2 separate regions of the Homo sapiens genome follow, and region 1 is linked to region 2. Evidence: promoter capture Hi-C in 16 types of primary human blood cells and fetal thymus (Javierre and others, 2016). All regions are on one chromosome and are shown on one strand. The core of a region is centred on a gene start or on the middle of the fragment in contact, and the rest is flanking DNA. Distances in the headings are between cores, read along the strand shown.

Region 1 (6,396 bases), core at 1,739-4,238, 580 kb after region 2:
AGTCTCAGATGAGGACAAAGGGACTCCCAAGCCCCCAAATCATCAGAAAACAGCAAGGAGCAGGAGGAGCTTGAGCAGGCCCCAGGGAGCCTCAGAGCCATACCAGCCACTGTCTACTTCCCATCCTCCTCTCCCATTCCCTGTCTGCTTCAGACCACCTCCCAGCTAAGCCCCAGCTCCATTCCCCCAATCCTGGCCCTTGCCAGCTTGACAGTCACAGTGCCTGGAATTCCACCACTGAGGCTTCTCCCAGTTGGATTAGGACGTCGCCCCGTTAGCATGCTGCCCCTGAGAGGAGAGCACAGGCAATGCTGTTAGCAGCAATGAGCACCGCAGACAGTGAGTTAGGGGATCAAATTCTATCCTAGTCACTAGTTTGGAGCAGGTCTAGAAGTTGGGGATAGCAGGTGCTCTAGAAGAGATTAGAAGGAGAGGTAGGAAAATGTGAAGTCACCCATGCAGGCCTCAGGAGTTGCCAACCCCAGACCCCTGCAGCACTTAAAGGGGCATTGGTAGGGGCAAGGGGAGGAGTTAGGGAAGCCCTGGGTGGGGCTAGAAGGAGGTGAGGAAGAAGAAGAGGAGGAGGCTTTGGCCCAGCAGGAGCAGGCCTGGGGGCAGCTGCCCAGGGACCCCTTCTGCGACTGCAGCCTCAGGGTTCCCAGCACGGCTGAGGTAGATGATGACCACATTGTCCTCCGGCCCTGATGGCTGCACCTCGTTGTCAACCGTATAGCAGCCCTTTCCCTCAACCGCTTTGCCATGGAACCTGCGCCCCAGTGTGTCCTCACCACCCTCACCGGGCGTGGCCAGTGCCACGTCCACTGAGCTCTCAGCACTGCCCAGCTCATTGGTGGCCAGGCAGCTGTAGGTGCCTTCCTCCAGCTTGCCAAAGTCGGGGATAAGCAGGCTGCCATTGGCAAAGGCCTGGAAGCGCGGCTGGGAGCTGGCCACAGGGGTGCCAGGCAGGGCACGCCCATCAGTGCCCACGTTGGGGCTGGTGATCTCCACAATGCCACTGGGTATCTGGATGTGCCAGTGAAGCTGAGGGGCCGGCTGCCCGTCCACATCACAGTGCAGTGCCAGCACAAAACCAGGCCGCAGCTCGGCACCATCCTGGCTGGGTTGGTAGCTGAGCTGCACTGAGGGCGCCGAGCATGGCAGTGGCGGCAGGCGGCTCAGCGGCGTACCCTTGAGCACATGGGGTGAGGTGCAGGCGATGTTGTCCTGCTCCGGGATGGACACGGCCGTGGTCAGGGCCCATGTCTTGAGCCACACGATGCCGCAGGTGCAGTCGAAGGGGTTCTCGTTGATCTGCAGGTGGGACAGCGCGGTGAGCGGGGTGAAGGTGCCCTCGGCCAATGTGTGCAAGCGGTTGTGGTTGAGTTGCAGCGAGCGCAGAGCACGGAGGCTGCGGAAGGCGTCGCGGGGGATGAAGGTCAGCTCGTTGCTGTCCATCTTGAGCAATTGGAGGGCACTGAGGTTGTGCAGGTCGCTCCAGGCAAAGTCAGAGATGAGATTGTGGCTGAGGTCCAGGCTCTTGAGATGGCTCAGAGAGGCCAGGGCTCCGGCGGCCACCGTGCGGATCTCATTGTGTGCCAGCCACAGCGACTGCAGCAGGGGCACCTCCCTGAAGGCACCCTCCGGCAAGCCTGGCAGCCGGTTGGCTGACAGGCTCAGTGTAGTCACATTGGCCGGGAAGCCAGGCGGCACGGATTCTAGGTCGCGGTAGGCACAGTCGGCGATCTGGAAGCCATACTTTTCCCCACAGTCGCAGGGCTCAGGGCAGGCCTGAGCCAGGCCCAGGAGAAGCGCCCACCAGAGCAGATGCAGCTCCTGCATGGTGCCTCCTGCAGAGAAAGGCATGTCACCCAGGGGATCCCGAGAACCTGCCAAAGGGACTCATTCCTCCCACAAGCCCAGCCAGAGCTCTTTCCCATCAGGAGGCCCTGTCCCACATAACCCAGCTAAATCCCAACACCACCTAGCCCACCGCCCCCATCCTACGGAAGGAGAAACTGAGGCCAAGAGAAGGGCGGAGACTTGCCCGAGGTCACGCAGCCAGGCAGGATGAAGACGGGATGGAAGAGGACCCCAGCTCCTCCTCCGAGTGGAGAGTTCTCCCTGCCTCGGCCTGTTCCTAGCTGACTTTATGACTTGAAATCTGTTTTCCAGCCACCCCCCTCCCCCAGCACTTTGCAGAACCTCCCCCTGCCCTCCCACATCCTGGCCGCAGTCCCTCCCACCGGAGCCCCCCATAGGTATGCTTTGCCTTGGCCCAGACGAGGCCCCTTGTGCAGTGCACACCACCCCCATCCACTCCACCCGCCCTCTCCCGCTCCTCCGGCCATGACCGCAGCAGACACCAGGCCTTTTCTGTGGAATCACACCCGTGGCCTGTTCTGTTCAAACTTAGCCAGGCAGCTGCCTAAATAAACCCCCGCCAGGACCTCTCAGCTGACTTGGGTGAGGCCAGAGGCTCAGCCCAAACGCAGCTGGGATTTCTGGGGCCTCAGTTGTGGGTTGTGGAAGAAGCAGATGCCCCCTGGACGGCTCCAAGCTAGGGATTGTCCCACGCACCTCAGACCAGCAGGGATGGACCAAGAGGGAACCAGCCCCTATGTCCAACAGGCCTCCCGCTCCCGCCGCTGGCCCTGGAGCCCTCCTCCCCACTGGCTTACCTTCAAGCTACTCTTAGTCAAGCGGAGCCTCTTCTAAGGTGGAACCAAAAAGCAACAGAGGACCTTAGCCCTGAGAGTCTGCAGGGCCACGGGCGCCCAAGGGAGGACTTGGATGCTGGGGCGAGGGGCAGCCTGGTCCCACCCCACCTTCGATGTGCAGGCCTGTGCCCTCCCTGCCCCAGACAGGGTGCCTGGAACCATCCACTGAGAGGAGGCGGCAGGGAGGAGCCCGGGGCAGCCCGCGCACTCCCTCCTTCCAGCAAAACAACTGCTTCTCTGCAGCAACAAGGACCTGTGTTTCATAAGTGACACCAGAAACTTGAGGGGGGAAGAGATGCCAAATTTTTTTGGGTTGTGTTTTTTCTCTCTCTCTCACTCACTTTTAGCAGCTTCAACTTCCTTAAAGACACAGCACTGTCTGGAAAGGACCCAAGAAATGATGGGGCCAGGAGGATTTTAGCGGGGGAAGGGCGAGAAATTGAATCTCATGGAAGGTGGGAGATTTCCACTTCAAACAAGAAAAAACGGGAAGCTTTTGTCCAAGCCAGGGTTGTATGTGTGTTGGTGTGTATACGTGTGTGTGTGTGTACAAGTTTGTGGGTGTGAGGGTGCGTATTTCTGGATTTGTATGTGTGTTTGCATGGATGTGGGTATGAAACCATGTACATGAGTTTGTGTGTGAGTGTGTGTGTGTGTCTGTCTTGGTGTGGGTTTGTGTGTGGAAGTGAGTGTGCATCCATGTGTGTGTGTTTCAGTGAAAAGCCAAGAAGGCCAAAGTGTACAAAGCAGATACCAACCCTTCGGTGAAAGCCAAGATGTTAGGCATTTTTTTTTTTTTTAAGAAAACATATCCTGCTGGCTCTGAGACTGAGCTGCGCTAAATGCATGTTGTTGTCCAGGGAGCTCCCAAGACTCCAGGCCCCGCCCCTCACTGCGCTCCCCACTGGCTGGGGAGGAAACAGGGAGGCCTGGCTCAGAAAACTCAGGGCGGGAGCCTGTTGACCTTCAGTGCTCCTGGCTGGGATTCTGAGCCACCCAGGCCCACTGCCCACTGGGCACCCAGAGGGGAGGCCAAGGGGCCGCACTCCCGGAGAGTTCTCTCTGTGTCCCCCACAGGGCCCAAAATCCCACTGTTGGTGCTGGACATCTACGCGGTCAGCATCGGCCTCTCTGAGCTCCACTGTTCCAACACCAACTGTGTGGAAGGGGCAGACGCCTCCAGGGTGAGGATATGTGACCCCTTTTCCAAACGGGAAGGCCCAGGGGAGGGGAATGGGGAAACAAAAGAGGCCCAAAACGAGGGAGCTGGAAGAGAAACCGAAAGATGAAGGAGCCCAGAAAAGAACTTTGTAGACTGAAGAATTTTGCTCTCCACAGACAAGCCTACCGTATCCCCTCAGTAGCCCTCCCCAAGCTTCCTTGGCCTTCCATCTGATAACTGGTTGAATTCTGCTCATGACTCAACTTACCCTCTCAGCAGGGCCAAGGGCAGACAGGGCTCATCTTTGGCTGAAAGCATCCCCAGGAAGCCTGCCCCAGCTCATCACACCCCATTCCCTGTCACCAAGCAAGGCCACAGAAGTCCCCAGCATGCTGCCTGCAAAACACCCGAGTCTGATGCTGAGGATATTATTATGGTCCAATGGAGAGCACCCTCTCTTTCCCCTGCAGAGGAAGCCCTCTCTTGCATCATCCTGACTGTGCTGGAGAATTTCTAGGAAAGTCCTGAATTTGGTGGGCCAACCAGAGGCTGCAAGAAACACATCCAGGGTTCAGTAAACCAGAGGGGAGACTCAGTGACCTCAGTGTCAGTCAGGGAGGGCTTCCTGGTGGAGGGGGCTTCACTATGTTCTGCACAGCCCATACACACACCCTCACCTGCACAAAGTCTGTGCCACCAGCTTTACCTCCAGGGTGCTCTGAGGAGCTCATAGTTCCCACCCCACCTCCCTCCTTGCAAGCACATCAGGGTCAGAGTACAAGCACCTCCTCAGCCCTCAGTTCCCAGTGACTGTTCTCTCAGACATTCCTGACTTTTCTTCATAGCTCCTCCTATAAGCTGTGATTATTTATTCATGCGTGCTTAATGTGCGACCCCTTACTAGAGAGGAAGCCCACTGAGGGCAGAGGCCTTAACTTCCCAGGTGCTATTGATCTCCAGCACAGGGAAGACACTCTGTAAGCGCCCCCTTCATGGCATGATGGACAAGTTGGGTGGTCATCAGAAGGAAGCATTTTAGAGCTCACCCACTTCATCTCCTCATCAACTTACAGATAGGGCCTTTGGGCCCAGGCTAGGGAAGGGGCATGCCCAAGACATTTTAGAGAATATTTCATACAGTGTAGGAGACCCATGCTCTGTTGGGTGGGTGAGTATGTCAGCAGCCTTCTGGGGGCAGGGAGTCTGTCCCCTCATTCCCTACCTAAGACCTTAATGACAGCCAAACACTAAGCTCAGACTCCCACCTCAAAACAGATGTGGGGGGCTGAGGGCGGGAAAAGTGGGAGGGACCAGCCCACCTGGGCAGAAATGAGACTGTGCGTGCTGGTCACTGATGTATCTTCCTGGTCTGCTCAGGTCCTGCCACTGCCTGCAAGGTGTGGCCATACCCGCTTCCACCAGGAAGGACAATAAGGCCGCCAGGATCTCAGCCAAGGACTATTGACTCTCCAAGGTGTCTCACAGTGGGACAGGTGGGCCTGCTCCTCAGCAGAGCCCAGGAGCAGTTGTGCAGGCCTCTGAGGATGGGGCGTATGACCTCCTGGGTTGCCCCTCTGCTCTTCTCTTGCTGTCAGAGCTCAAGTTCTTTCTGTAAAGCCCACCTCACAGGAGATCATGCCAGCAGGCAGGGAGACAAGTCAGAAGTCGGGCTCCCTGATCTTTTCAGGCTGGGAGCTTCCTGTGGGCTGTCTGGGCTGCCATCTCCCCTCTCCTGGCCTCCTCTAAATTGGGCTCAGGCCTGAGATGGGGACCCTTGGTGAGTATGTGCGGCCCTGACTGTCCCCAGAACTAGGAGGCCAAGCTTGGGAGCCCCTCCTGTGAGTCCTGGCCCTGTCTCCTGTGGGTCCCTGGCAGCTTGTAGGGTGACCAGCCAACAGTCCTGGTTCACCTGGAACTGATGGGTTTTCTGGGACATGGGACTTTCCATGCTAAAATCGAGACAGTCTCAGCAAACCAGTACAGTTGGTCACCCTAGCAGGGGAGGGGGGCTCACTCCCTCCCACAGTTTTTCTTTCCCCCTGCTCCCCTTCCTGCCTGCAGAGGTCCAGCCCTCTCTCCTCCCATTCCGCTGCCTCTCGCTCTGCTCCTGCTCCTGCTGCCCCTAGCCAGGGCGCCAGCCGCACCCCAGCTGTGGCTGCTCAACCAGGACTCCCCCACCCCAGAAGGCCTCACTCCCACTGACCAGGGGCACCACGTCAGCTTTTCCTGGAAGGCAAAAAAAAAGATCCTGATGAGAAGATGGAGCGAGAGGGACAAGCCCAGCAGAGACAGAAAACTGGAGAGAAACAGAGAAATGAGAGAGACACCAGGAAAGAGAGGGAAAAACAGAGAATCACAGCCTCCTTTCTGGAGGTAGAGAAAGGAAGCAAGGGAGAAAGACCCAGAAAGAGAGATGGAGGAAGAAGGTCTGAACCCGGAAACAGGCTCTGAGAGGAGAGAGGCAGTCGGGGGCTGCTGTGGTCAGCTGTGGTTGTGGGCTGTAGCCATCCCACCAAG
Region 2 (6,477 bases), core at 3,392-5,891:
CTGCTGGGATTATAGGCTTGAGCCACTGCGCCTGGCCATCCTAGTTGATTCCTGTGCACTAAAGTTTGTGAAACTTTTGTAAATATCGTCACTTAGAGCAGACTATAGCAATTGAGGTCCCCTCCTTTCATTATATAAACAGTTCCTAGCAGGGACAAACAGCCTTCCTGACTGCTGAACCTGCACACATTTTTTCGTGAGGGGTATGTACTCACGGGTCATGGTTGACCTGCCACTGGTTTACGAAGACACAGCATTTCTTGGGGATGTAGAAGCCATTCAGCGTTGTGTCCCTTGTTGTGCTGAGGAGGGAAGAGGGCACTGTGAGGCTCAGGGCTGGAAAGCTGGGGCATGTGTTGCTCCTACCTCCACCCCATCCAGACAGCCTGCCCACCGCCATCTCCATCCCTACACTGGGAGGGGAGGGGAGGAACAGGGAAGAGGTAGAAACATCCTCCCTCTTCCTTGCGTCCTGTTCTTTAACTTCAGCAAGTATTTACTAAACTTCTCTTTGCGCCTGGCTGCGCACTTGGCTGTTCTCTGGAGCCAAGAAGCAGGCAATTTCAGATAAATGTTTTTCTATTTTCTATGAAAAAAAAAAAAAAAAAAAAAAAAGCAGCAGGCAGCCTGGGGCAGCCCCGGGGAATTTCTAGCCTGGCTGGGGATTCAGGCCTCTTACTGCAGGAATAACTAGAACAACGTTTGGGTAGAAGTAAATGCTCACTAACTCTCTTGACATTGTTAAAATTCCAGGGCATGATCAAGGGCTGATGGCTGTAAGTCCTATAAGACATCAGGAATGAAGCTGTGCCAGCTGGATGAGTCAAAAGGCTTCTGGGGAGAGGAAGCTCGTGTCGGCATTGACTTTGAGCAAGGGTAGGATTCTGGTGGTCAGAGAAGAGGCTAGAAGGTATTCCAGGCAGAAGGTTCAGCGTTAGCAAGATTGGAGGCCAATAGGGTCATGCTTGTGAGGGTGAGGCCGACCTGACTGGCACAGAGGGCACTGGGAGGGAGGGAATATGAACAGAGGGGAATGAGCGCTGAGATCACAAGTGGAACTTTCTCCTGAGAGCTGGGGGTTAGATTATGTTTGGACTGGATGGGGGCAGACTGAGGCCGGGATCTGTGGGGAACGAGGTCGGGAAGGAGATGCTGAGCCAGGGCCAGGGCTGAGAAGCCAGGAAGAGAAAACATGGCAAGCACTTTAGAGGTGGGAGGGCAGAACCGGCAGGCCTCACCTGTGGGGGATGGTGAAGGGCAAGAAGGAGGAGTGTCGGAAGGTCTCCAGGATGAAGGCCTCCAAGTAGGGCAGCTGGGGTCTGTCAGAGAGCCGGGGCCGCCGCTCCCTGCCAATCACAGTGTCTGTAGAACACAGAGGACAAGCAGAGCTCAGGGGCTGCCCTAACTGCCCCATGAATTATCCCCTCTTATACCCCATGTCACTCTTATGTAAGACTGTCTATTCACAAGTCTGCGACCCCACTAACCTCCCACATCTTCTAGGCAAGGGCAGGCACTACTGTGTGCCCAGGGCTTGCACACAGCAGGCACATAACAGGTGTTTGTAGACTGAACAAACAACCTGGGTCTCAAGGCTTCTCCTGGCTATAGGGTTGGGGGCCCCCATGTACCCAGCTCCTTCTGGATCTTCCTCTGTATCTCAGGCTTGGTCACAAGGTACATGAGGCTCCAGGAGATGGCTGTGGTGACTGTGTCAAATCCTGAACCGTGTAGTGTAAGGTGAGGAAAGAAGGAAGACAGAAACAAGGAAACCATCATTTCCCAAGTATCTGCTATGTATGTATCCAGCATTAGCTTTCTCTGGCCCTAGCCTGTGAGTTTCCTGAAGACAGAGGCTGGGTCTCTTCAACATAAACTTGAGATACAGGTTTCAGAATTAGCTGCTGGAATTATAGGGGCCTAGACTTACAGGCCAGAGAACACCTTATTGTTCAGATGGGGAAACTGAAGCCTAGGGGAGGAGAAGGACTTTGCTGTTTCTCCACTGGGAATTGGTGGCATAGCCCAGGCTCAAACCCTGATCCCAAGCCAGATCTCAGTATGTTGTACCATCTGGTGTAGGGTTGGTGGGTTATTTCATGGACTGAGGGGCTGGGCAAGGCTGTGGGTGAACAGCAGGCATTGTTGGATGGAGGGGCAAGGTTCTGGTTCCTACCTGCTCCAAAGATGTCATTGACAAGGTTGACAATCTTCTCCTGTGGGATGAGGTTGCCGCTGGCTCTAGGCCCCTTCTTGCTGTGCTTGAACAGGGCACCCGTGATGTCCCGGACACTGTTCTGAGGGGGCACAAGCTTAGGGGCACCTCTGGCACTTCCAAGGTCAAAGGCTGAACGTTGCTCCACTCCCCTGGCCTGTACCTGGTGGCTGGGTACCCCCCTATCCTCCCAACTTGGTCTCTAGGCAGGGGGTTGCAGCTTGCAGCAGGAGCTGGTAGCAGCCCTGGGTATGGCTTAAAGTGTCATTTTATGCCCCATTGACCCTTCCTCCCAATAACACCAGGGGTCCAATTTCAAAGAAGGAAAAGGTTAGTGTGAACACAGGGAAGCAACGTGACACCAGAGCTGGGGATTAGCCTCTGTTGGGGTTTAGGTTTCTGCAGAATGAAAGCTTTCTCACTCATAGGCCCCCCACATTGCAGGACTCTGCTAGGGCCCCATTTCCAGGGCTTTTTTCTTGGGGGCTTTGAGGAGCCCTGAGAAGGGGGCTTCAAGGATGAGGAAACTGAGGCCCAGAGAAGGGGAAGAGTCGGCTCCAGGTCACACAGCTGGTCTGAGGTGTCCAGAGCCTTCCTAGGCCTTGGCAACACAGCAGCTGTGTGGGCATGCTGGAGCTGGGAGGGAGGGGCTGCACCCAGGCCCTGCAAGGTGCCCCTTGCCACCTGCACCCCGGGCTCACCTTGTCAAAGTCCTGATAGTGCTCCTGGACTGTTTTCTGCAGGAACCACAGGAACCTCTGGTTGAAGGCCTTGAACCTCTGCAGGGCAGGGTTAGGCAGGTAGCGAAGGATGGGGAAGAAGTCCAGGGGGTTCCCGGAGGAGGCAGTCTCCACGAACTCATGAGTGTTCTTCACGAGGCTGAGCATCTCATCGCTACTCTCAGGGAAGTGCTGTCCGAAGCACATGGCACCAATGACGTTGGCCACTGACACCACCACCTGATTGTAAGGGTCGAAGTGCCCAGGCCCTGCCATCAGCTCCTGCAACCTGCTGATCAGGGCCTTAGCCTCCTTGCTCACATGCTCCTCCAGGTAGCAGGAGGATGAGGAAGCTGGGTCAGAGGCGATGGAGAAGGTGTTGAGGGCATTCTGGGCCAGGCGCCGGCGGGCAGCCCACACCGGTCCAGAGTCTGTGCTGAAGGTCAAGCTCTGGCCATCAGTGATGAGGGTGGAGGTGTAGAGGTCAGGCCGGCCCTTGAAATCGTCGCCCTGCCGCACCAGGGCCTGCCGGATGGTGTCCAGGCGGCTCAGCACCAGCACGGGCGTGGAGCCAATGCGGATCTGCAGGACGTCCCCGTAGCGCTGGCTCATCCTTGACAGTGCCAGGTGCGGGTTCTTCCCCAGGGTCAGCACATGCCCGAGCAAGGGCCAGCCCCATGGCTCTGGTGGACTTTTCAGGCCTTTGGGGACCCGAGGCCTCAAACCCTTGAGCACCCAGAATACCAGGCAGAAGATGGCAGAGGCCAGGAGAAGCTCTGTGGCCGAGAAGGGAACAGACTGGGACAATGCCATCTGTACCAACTGCAGGGAAAAAAGGAGGGACCAGGCTGAGGGTTGAGATGGAGACATTCATTCATTCATTTCCTCAGTCATTTGATAAACACTGATGCGTGTTCTGTGCTTGGCTCCCAGCTGGATACCAGAAAGACTAAGCTCCATCTACCATGCGTCCTGGGCCCACAGAGCTCACCCTTTGAGCATCACAGAATCTGAGAGCTGGAAAGGAGCCTCAAGATTCCCAACATGAACGCTGGCTCTCTCCTCCACACATCATCTCAGTTTCCACTTCTGGGGCTGGAGTAGAGGCAAGTGACCACTCCAAAATGGGGAAGCCAAGGACAGCACCCTTGTCAGCCCCTGGCACAGCATGCATGCTGGGTATTGTACCAAAGAGTCCCTGCCAGTGCTGGCTTTCTGCTGATACCTTCCATATACCCAAGGGACCAGGAGTTCCCCCTACCCAGTGACACTGAGGTGGCCAAGGTCCCAGGGCTGGTTCAAATAGCCTGTGATGCCCCCTCCCCAGGGCATTCTTTATCAATACCAGGAGGGGCACCTCCTCCAGGGATGAGTCCCCATCCTCTCACAGTCTTGGAGGTTGGGGTTGGGCTTCAGCCAGGGCCAGGGCTGCCCTTGTGCTAAGGGGGAAGCCCTCCCCATCGCTCTCCTTAAAAATGGCTTAGTCCAAACTGCTCATTTAAAATCGGGAAACAGAAGTCAAGAGCTGGGTAGCAAAGCCCGGAACTCAGGACCCCTACACCTAGCCCAGGCTCCCCGTCTTTCTGTCCCCACTAGCTTCCAGGTTCTATAGTTGGGGATCCCAGAGATTGTAAATTGGTCCCAAGAAAGGTACCTGTAGAGGCAGGTGCTTGAGATTGGCAGGGTTGTAATGGCTGGTGTGGAGCTTCTGGCTCTAGGTGAGTGGCCTTTTTATAAACACCGCCCCCTATCAGATTGGCCTGGTTGTCCTGATCACCTGATATGAAAGCTGGATCACTGAACAAAGTTGGAAGGATCAACTCTTGGCCTTGGGCCATTATCCCTCAGCTCCACCTACTACCTAAGACCCAGGGTGACTCTTTGGGGATAGGCCAGAAGGGGTGCTGGGTCCCTGGGGATGAAGGTACAGCTGTCTTTAGGGTTCAGGGTAGGGAGCCTATTTCTCTGAAGAGTAGGGTAGGGTCTGGGAGTGGGGGTTAGGCCTTTGGACTGATCTGGGCTTCTTTCCCACTGCACACATGAGGAAGAGCTCTGCCAGGGCACTCAGTCTAGGCCAACCAGGCTCACGGCCCCTCTCCAGAGGGATGTTCTTCTGTAGTACCCTCCAACAACCTGCAAAACCAAACAGTAAATGGGCGTGTTCCAGCCACTCCTGATTTTCAGCCCAAGTCCCCAAGTGGAAAAGAAGAGATGATAAAGATTTTGCATCCTAAAGAGAGGCCCCCCTTATGCAAAAAGACTAAGAGACATAACCAAATGCAATATGGATTTGCATTTGATTGCCATATCGATTGGATATGGCATTTAAACAAAATTTTAAAAAAATCTATAAAAGATGTTTTGGGGACAATTGGGGACATGTAAGCACGGACTGGAGATTAGATGATATTCTGGAATAAATGTAAATTTTTTTAGGTGTGAACAGAGTGTCATGGTATGTGGGAGTGTATCCTTATTCTTAGGAGATTAATGCTGTAGCATGGAAGTGTCATGATCCCCACAACCTCCTTTTGAATGGTTCTGTTAAAAAATGTACACCTCTAGGCCAGGCGCGATGGCTCGCACCTGTAATCCCAGCACTTTGAGAGGCCGAGATGGGCGGATCACCTGAGATCAGGTGTTCAAGACCAGCCTGGCCAACCTGGTGAAACTCCGTCTCTACTAAAAATACAAAAATTAGCCAGGCATGGTGGCATGTGCCTGTGATCCCAGCTACTCGGGAGGCTGAGGCAGGAGAATGGCTTGAACTTGGGAGGTGGAGGCTGCAGTGAGCCAAGATCGTGCCACTCCACTCCAGCCTGGGCGACAGAGTGAGACTCCGTCTCAAAAAAAAAAAAAATGTACACCTTTAAAGAGTGTAATTGGATTGTTTGTAACTCAAAGGTTTATCCTTGCTTGAGGGGATGGATACTCCATTCTCCATGAATGCTTATTTCATATTGCATGCCTGTATCAAAACATTTCATGTACCCCATACATATATACACCTACTATGTACCCATAAAATTAAAACAATGTATACCTATCTATCAATAAATCGAGAGAAAGTAGATATGAGAAATGTCAGATATTCATGGACTTACGTGAGGATATATGGTGTTTGTTGTACTAAAGGAGTCTTTAATATGGACCCAGATCTCAGTCAGATCTAAGAGGAGGAGGAGGACAAGCCTTAAATTGGATGTGAAAAGGAAGTTTGCTATCTTTTTTTTTTTTTTTTAGATACAGAGTCTTGCTCTGTCACCCAGGTTGGGGTTCATGTGCCACAATCATGGCTCACTGCAGCCTCGACCTCCTGAGCTCAAACAATCCTCTTGCCTCAGCCTCCTGAGTAGCTGGGACCACAATCACAGGTGTGTGCACCATGCCTGGCTAATTTTTTTATTTTTAAACATTTTTTTGTAGAGAGGAGGTCTTGCCATGTTGCCCAGGTTGGTCTTGAACTTCTGGGCCCAAGCAATCCTTCTGCCTTGGCCTCCCAAACTGCTGGGATTACAGGTGTGAGCCACTGTGCCCGGCATG

Evidence for each region. Contacts are between HindIII fragments. The CHiCAGO score rates a contact against its expected background, and 5 or more counts as called.
Region 1: a contact is called between the fragment with the promoter of ISLR here and the fragment with the promoter of CYP1A2 in region 2, in 4 of 17 cell types (M1 macrophages, fetal thymus, M2 macrophages and 1 more). The highest score is 6.8, in M1 macrophages.

What each region holds. Positions count from the first base shown.
Region 1 is chr15:74,170,302-74,176,697 of GRCh38, reverse strand. It overlaps ISLR (immunoglobulin superfamily containing leucine rich repeat), which reads right to left and starts at 2,988. Exons shown (of 2, transcript NM_005545.4): 1 at 2,679-2,988; 2 at 1-1,847. The coding sequence starts at 1,839. The coding sequence ends at 553. RefSeq lists enhancers at 1-170, 1,278-2,266, 2,267-3,254, 3,255-4,243. The HindIII fragment of the contact is 10,197 bases long and covers 1-3,212 here.
Region 2 is chr15:74,747,009-74,753,485 of GRCh38, reverse strand. It overlaps CYP1A2 (cytochrome P450 family 1 subfamily A member 2), which reads right to left and starts at 4,641. Exons shown (of 7, transcript NM_000761.5): 1 at 4,589-4,641; 2 at 2,917-3,756; 3 at 2,177-2,297; 4 at 1,632-1,721; 5 at 1,239-1,362; 6 at 216-302. The coding sequence starts at 3,747. RefSeq lists promoters at 3,748-4,885, 4,551-6,477 and a cis regulatory region at 5,972-6,477. The HindIII fragment of the contact is 9,803 bases long and covers 2,631-6,477 here.